2 separate regions of the Homo sapiens genome follow, and region 2 is linked to region 1. The links are contacts of gene promoters, found by promoter capture Hi-C in human tissues and cell types (Jung and others, 2019). All regions are on one chromosome and are shown on one strand. The core of a region is centred on a gene start or on the middle of the fragment in contact, and the rest is flanking DNA. Distances in the headings are between cores, read along the strand shown. Region 1 holds the start of SEC13 (SEC13 homolog, nuclear pore and COPII component). Region 2 has its middle 19 kb from the start of ATP2B2-IT2.

Region 1 (3,151 bases), core at 211-2,710:
GCCTTTGTTCCCTGCTCTAACCTAACCACCACCCCCTCACACCCCTGCAACAATTTCTCCACTAGAGGGCAATAAAAAATCTTGAAAGCTGCAGTGGGGTAGAAGAGTTGCCCAGAGGCCTGGCCCTTAATTCTAACACCCTACTCCCCTGGCCTCCCCTCCAAAGCTCCTTGACAGTTTGGGTCTATCACATTCTCTGAGCCTTAACATCTTCCTTCAAGCAGTGACCATCTCCAGCTAGGGTCCTTACTCCCAGTTTCAGCAGAGGAAACTGAAGGACTGTGACTTGCCCAAGGGGAGCCAAGGCCTCCCCCAGCTCATCTGCCTCCTTAATGTCACAAGGGGCCCAGGGCTAGACCATATGTGGCTGAGGCGGGGAGCCCAGGCTCTGTCCTCCAGTGTGGCATTCTCACTGCGCTTGTGGGGAGCCTTCAGCTGCCCTACCTTGTGAAGCCAGAGACCTGGGGTTGGGGACCCTGAGGATTAGGTCTGGGGCTCTAGCTGCAGGAGCCTGGCTGAGATCCTTCATTGCCTAGGGGGGTCTCCTTGATGGGACTTACTCAGGACCCCAGGGGATCGGTTTGGAAGGGGCAGTCCTATATAGGGGTTAGGGATGGCAGGGCCAGAGGTCCCAGCCTCTGGCGAGGGGCATTCCCTGGCCTCCTCTGCCCTGGTCCCAGTCCTTGGGTACTGAGAGGGAGACTACAACAAGGAAGCACTAGGACAGTCTACTTACTCCTAAGATGTCACTCATCCTACAACATTCATCATAAGACCAGTCGCACCCAGAGCCGTAGTGAGGCGGGTGAAGCTGCAGATAGATAGATGATAGATAGATAGATAGATAGATAGATAGATAGATAGATAGATAGATAGATTTTTTTCTTTTTTACAAGAGTGTCTCTCTGTTGCCCAGGCTGGAGTGCAATGGTGCAGTCACGGCTCACTGTAACCTCCACCTCCCGGGTTCCAGCGATTCTCCTGCCTCAGCCTGTAGCTGGGACTACAGGCGCGCGCCACTATGCCCGGCTAATTTTTGTATTTTTGGTAGAGACGGGGTTTCACCATGTTGGCCAGGCTGGTCTCGAACTCCTGACCTCAGGTGATCCACCCCCCAGCTCAGCCTCCCAAAGTTCTGGGATTACAGGCATGAGCCACCGCGCCCGGCCGATAGTTATATTAATCCTTTCTTTCATTTATGGATCTCAGGAAAAGGGCAGACTTGGTCGGGAGAGTAGACCCACCAGAGCTTCAGATTCCAAAGCCCTCCGGGTCAGGGTAACTGCGGCAACCAGAGCCCCAGCCCTCTGGTCTCGCACGTCACTGGAGGATAGGGGCTGGGCCACGGGAGGGCGGGGCGCGCCCTCTGGAAGGCGCGGAACTGCTGTGCGAGCCGAGCGCGTTGCTGCCCGGAGGCTCCTACGCCACGGCCCGTCGGGCCCGGCGCCGGAAGTGAGCTGTTCCGAGGCGCCGCCGGGAGCTGCCACGTCCGAGACCTGGAGCAGCCACCGCCGCAATCATGGTGAGTGTTGGTACTGAGGAGGCCTAGCAGGGTGAAGGCCACGGTCGCGGCCTTCACGGGTTCCTCGGCCGTCCTGAGTCCCAAATCCCAAGCTGGAGCCGTTCAGCTCCCCTCCACCGCTTAGAGATTTGGGGGGCTCTGGCCCCGTCCTTGCGGACCATTCCGAGGGGAGTCCAGAGGTGAGGCCGAGGAACCTCCCTGACTTTGCGGGGCGCGCCGCTCCTGCGTCTCCTGCCAGTCTCCCTTCCTTCTTTTCGGTCAACAATTGAAAACAAAACGAGGAACAGCAGAGGAGCTACTGTATACCGAGCCCTCAGCATTGTTCGTAATCTCCGCCTGCTAACAGCCTTGTGAAGAAGGTGCTATTCTTCTCAACACTTTACAGATGAGGACACTTGAGGTTCGGAGACGTGGAGCCTCTTGCACAGCTGCTTAAGTGGTAGTAGAGCCGAGATTTGAACCCTCCTAACCATTCCTTTCTGCCGCCTACTGCAGCTCCCAGCAGAGATGATTGAACTGTTGCTCGGGGTAGGGCCCCCAGGTAGGATGGGCACCTCGGGAAACGTAAAGATGGCCTGAACGACCCTCCGAAGGCAGGGGCTCAGGGTTTTTTAAGTCTCTGTGGCATCTGCAGTGTACATTCACTCCACACTTACTCCTTGAGTGAATGAATGACTGAAGGAGAACTAAAGAATGGAAGTATCTGGGCTGAGCCTGGAATATCTAGTACATGCATTCTTTTAGAAACATGGGTGTGTCTCAGCAGCAGGTTTGAGGGAACCTGCAGGAACCTAGAAATCAGAACACTGTGTTCTTGTTCTGCAGAGGGTTAGGTGTAAATCACTCACCTCTGGCTCTTCCACTGCAGGTTAGAGTTGAGGCTTTTATGCTCTGACATTCAGCTCATCCTAAATGAATTTTTAACTCATTATCTGATCTCAAAGAGGTGAATTATTTTGAGTGCAGGTGTTAACAGGGACCAGATAATACCAGGTCCCTGGGAAGAAGTACTCTAAGAAGTTCTCTCTCTCTCTCTCTCTCTCCCCACCCTCCCTCTCTCCCCACTCCCTCTCCCTCCCCCCTTCCTCTCCCTCTCCCTTTCTCTCTCTCCCCCTCCCTCTCTTCTCTCTCTCTCTCCCCGCTCCCTCTTCCTCCCCCCTTCCTCTCCCTCTCCCTTTCTCTCCCGCCCTTCCTCCTTCCTTCCGTCCTTTTCTCTCCCCCTCCCTCTTTCCTCCCCCCCCCCCCCCCCCGCCTTCTCTCTCTCTCTCTCTCTCTCTCTCTCTCTCTCATTCAGAAGTGTGGTTCATCAACCCTGACTGGTGGGTGAGAGTGGTTAGAATTAAATGCTGATTATTTCTAAGGTCCTTTGGTAACCTGGTTGAAACTACCTCTCAGTAAACTTTCTTCGTGAACCTACTTAACCGCAGCTTTACAGAACTCAGTGTAACAACTGCTTTACATTCTAGACAGGCAGCCTGGTGGAGTGAAGTTTTGTGGACTCAGCATTAGAAGGTTAGGGGATGGGGCTCTTTTCCCAGGTCTGCCTTGAACTAGCTCTGTGACTTTGGCAAGTGCTTTCTCTTCTCTGGGCTTCTTCATTTCCTTAGTCTGTCGCAGGTCTCTGATTGA
Region 2 (3,151 bases), core at 469-2,968, 290 kb before region 1:
GCAGTCAAGGCAAGGGGGTTATAGGACTTCCCCAAAGGACCTGAGCTCTTTCCCTCATTTTTTACCAGATGTTTATTGAGGGCCTTGTGCACGCCAGCTCCCTGCTAGGCACCAGGGGATTTAGTAGGACTGAAATAGGCCTCTCCCCAGCAGCGCCCCTAGTCTTGCCAAGAGAATGGTTTCTTAGATAACTGTAGTACCATGTGAGGTGTGATAAGAGAGGGTCTGGCCAGGGGAGGAAGAGGCCAGTGGGGCCTCAGGGTGCTGGAGAAGATTTTACAGATGAAGGGCCATTTCAACCAGGTCTTGGCAGATGAGTAAGAGTTCTTCAGGGAACAAAGGGCAGCCAAAATCTTATGAGTGACTGCAAAGAGATTTGAACATACAAAATGTGATCGTATGTGGTGACGGGCTCGGCAGGTCTGAGCAGAGGCTGCAGAGAGCCAGCAGAGGAAACTGACAGGGCCTCATCACCAAAGGCCTCCAAGGCCAGTTGAGGGAGTCAGGACTTGGTCTTACAGACAGGTGAGAGACACTGAAGATTTTAATTTTTTTGTTAAGAGGTAAGGTCTCACTATGTGGCCCAGGCTGGAGTGCAGTGGCACAATCATTGCTCACTGCAGCTTCAAACTCCTGGGCTCAAGTGATCCTCCCACCTCAGCCTCCCCAGTAGCTGGGACTACAGGCACAAGCCACCATGCCCAGTGGCACTGCAGACTTTATAATGGGGGCTTGATGTGGTCAGCTTTGCATCTTAGAAAACTACAGTGTGGATGGAGTGAGGAGGGAGACAGGGACCTTCCAGAGAAGAAAGCTATGACTTAAAAATCCTAGAGGCCAGTGCTTAGACCAAGGCAGTGGAGTCAGGAGGTAGACAGCAGGGGACAGCTCTGCTCTTTTCCGAGTTTGAGTGACAAGGGTCAATCGTGAAGGAAAAGGAAGTGTCAGGGATGATTTCAAAGTGGACAGTGAGGCCTGGGTGGGTGATGCTGCCTCTTGATGAGAGAGGGGACAAGGGGAGAAGGAGCAGGTGGAAGAGAGAGGGAGGGAGGTCATAAGGTCAAATCTGGTCACACTGGGACCTGACTTCGATATAGTATCACCCCCCTAGACCCCTGCCCTAGCAAGCTTCATGGTAAACCCTGGTGATGCTGAGTCAATGCCAGATTTATCATCCACACACCCTCCAAATCTACATGTGGTCACTGAACTTGTGATAGCTGCCACACTCAAACAGAAAGATCTCACCCTGCACCTACAGCAGGCTTAGCTTGGCCCTCGCTGCTTGGGGTTGCACCCCCTTTCCATCTAAGTGCAAGTGTGGAAAGTGGATGCCATGTCCCTAGTGTGGATAGATTTTTCAGGTATTGAATGGCAATGCCACTGAGCAGGTTGGTTGTGCAGAGCCTACCCTAGAAATGGATCATTTAGAAAGGTTCTGTGTCCTGGCCAGGGTGCCAGGTGTGCAGGGGTCAGGGATACCTGGGGGATGGCTAATGGGGCACTGCCTTGGCTCACCACTGACCCCTCTCCAGGGAGTCCAGGGACTCTGCCTGGCTTTGGAAAAGACCTTGGCTTAGGAGAAATGGAAATGTCAGGGAGCAATGGTTTCTAAGGTCCAGGGCTGGAGGTCTGGGAGTGCCCAGCTTTGTGGGGGATTCCTGGTTGGAAGTACTGCAACTAAACAACTTCCTTTGCAGCTTCCTCCACTGTTTCAGGCTCTGTTCTGGGCTTTCCACTGCCTGGGCTTATTCAACCCTCACACAAGTGGATCAGAGAGGAGAAGCAACTGGCCAGTGTCACACAGCCAGTACGTGGTCAACCAGCTTCCTGCCGACCGCCAAGCCAGTGCCACATCTTGTCTCTGTGTGAAGTTGGAAAAGATAGAACATTTTTAAAAAGTATGAGATTCATACCTGAGTTGCCAAATTAAATGTTTTTAAGACAAAGGTTGATGGGAACAGTCTCTCTCTCTCTCTCTCTGTCTCTCTCTCTCTCTTTCTTTCTCTCTCTCTCTCTCTCCCCCCCTCCCCCTCTCCCTCTCCCTCTCTCTCTCTCTCTCTCTCTCTCTGTGTGTGTGTGTGTGTGTGTGTGTGTGTGTGTTTAGACTCCGTCATTACACTTACGTTTACTGTGCACCTACTATGTGCCAGGCCCTGGGGATACAGCAGTGACTGAGGGAGACTTAGGGAGGAATGGATAGGAGTATGGGGAAAGGTCTTATACATAAGCAGGTGTGTAAAACACACATACACACAGACACACACATTAGTGCTCCAAACCGTTGTAAAAGTAGACACATTTACCTGGCACAGACACACAGATACACATCTCCAAAACTCCCCTGCATGCACATGTGTACCTCCGCTGCACACACGTCCACCCACAGGATTCAGACTGACTTCCAGAGTTAACTAAGTAAGGGAACTGGACCTCCAACCCAATATACAAGCCAGGAGGATTGGAAGTCTTGCACTCCCTACTTCACCAAAGACTAGCAAAGGACCTTAATCCTGGCTTTTAACTCCACCCCCCTGGTCAGGGGCTGAGATCTTGGGGTTAGATGGTGCGGACTACAGCTTTGCCCAAGGACTCTGCTAAGAGTCATTGCCACCATCTATTAAACACAAGCCAGGCTCTTGACATGCATTGCCTCCTCTCACATACACTCTGGCCGTGGAGTATATGGGTACAGTACTACCCTCATTTTATAGATGAGAAAACTGAGGCTCAGAGAGCTGCGTTATCTCACCGGGGGTCTCATGCAGATCACAAGCGGCAGAGCCCAGATTGAACACTGAACTCCTCCACTGGAAACAGCAACCCGAGTCCTTAGGTTGTTTTTTTGTTTTTGTTTTTGTTTTTAGAGATTAAAGTCTTGCTCTGCACCCAGGCTGGAGTGCGGTGGTACAATCGTAGCTCGCTGCAGCCTTGAACTTCTGGACTCAAGCAAACCTCCCATCTCAGCCTCCAGAGTAGCTGAGACCACAGGTGCATACCACCACAGCCAACTGATTTTAAAAAAAAATGTAGAGGGCTGGGCATGGTGGCTCACGCCTGTAATCACAGCACTTTGGGAGGCTGAGGCAGGCAGATCACTTGAGGTCAGGAGTTCAAGACCAGCCTGGCCAACATGGCGAAACCTCATCTC

What was found. Contacts are between HindIII fragments. The study calls those that stand out against the background at their distance.
Region 2: a contact is called between a fragment that was not itself captured here and the fragment with the promoter of SEC13 in region 1, in 2 of the 25 tissues and cell types used here (H1 embryonic stem cells and IMR-90 fibroblasts).

Annotation. Positions count from the first base shown.
Region 1 is chr3:10,319,421-10,322,571 of GRCh38, reverse strand. SEC13 (SEC13 homolog, nuclear pore and COPII component) reads left to right here and starts at 1,460. Exons shown (of 9, transcript NM_183352.3): 1 at 1,460-1,522. The coding sequence starts at 1,520. RefSeq lists a silencer at 1,225-1,304 and enhancers at 1,152-1,747, 1,495-1,794. The HindIII fragment of the contact is 24,307 bases long and covers 1-3,151 here.
Region 2 is chr3:10,605,833-10,608,983 of GRCh38, reverse strand. It overlaps a transcript of ATP2B2 not described here. Among named protein-coding and RNA genes, the nearest start is that of ATP2B2-IT2, 19 kb to the left of the region's middle. The HindIII fragment of the contact is 7,268 bases long and covers 1-3,151 here.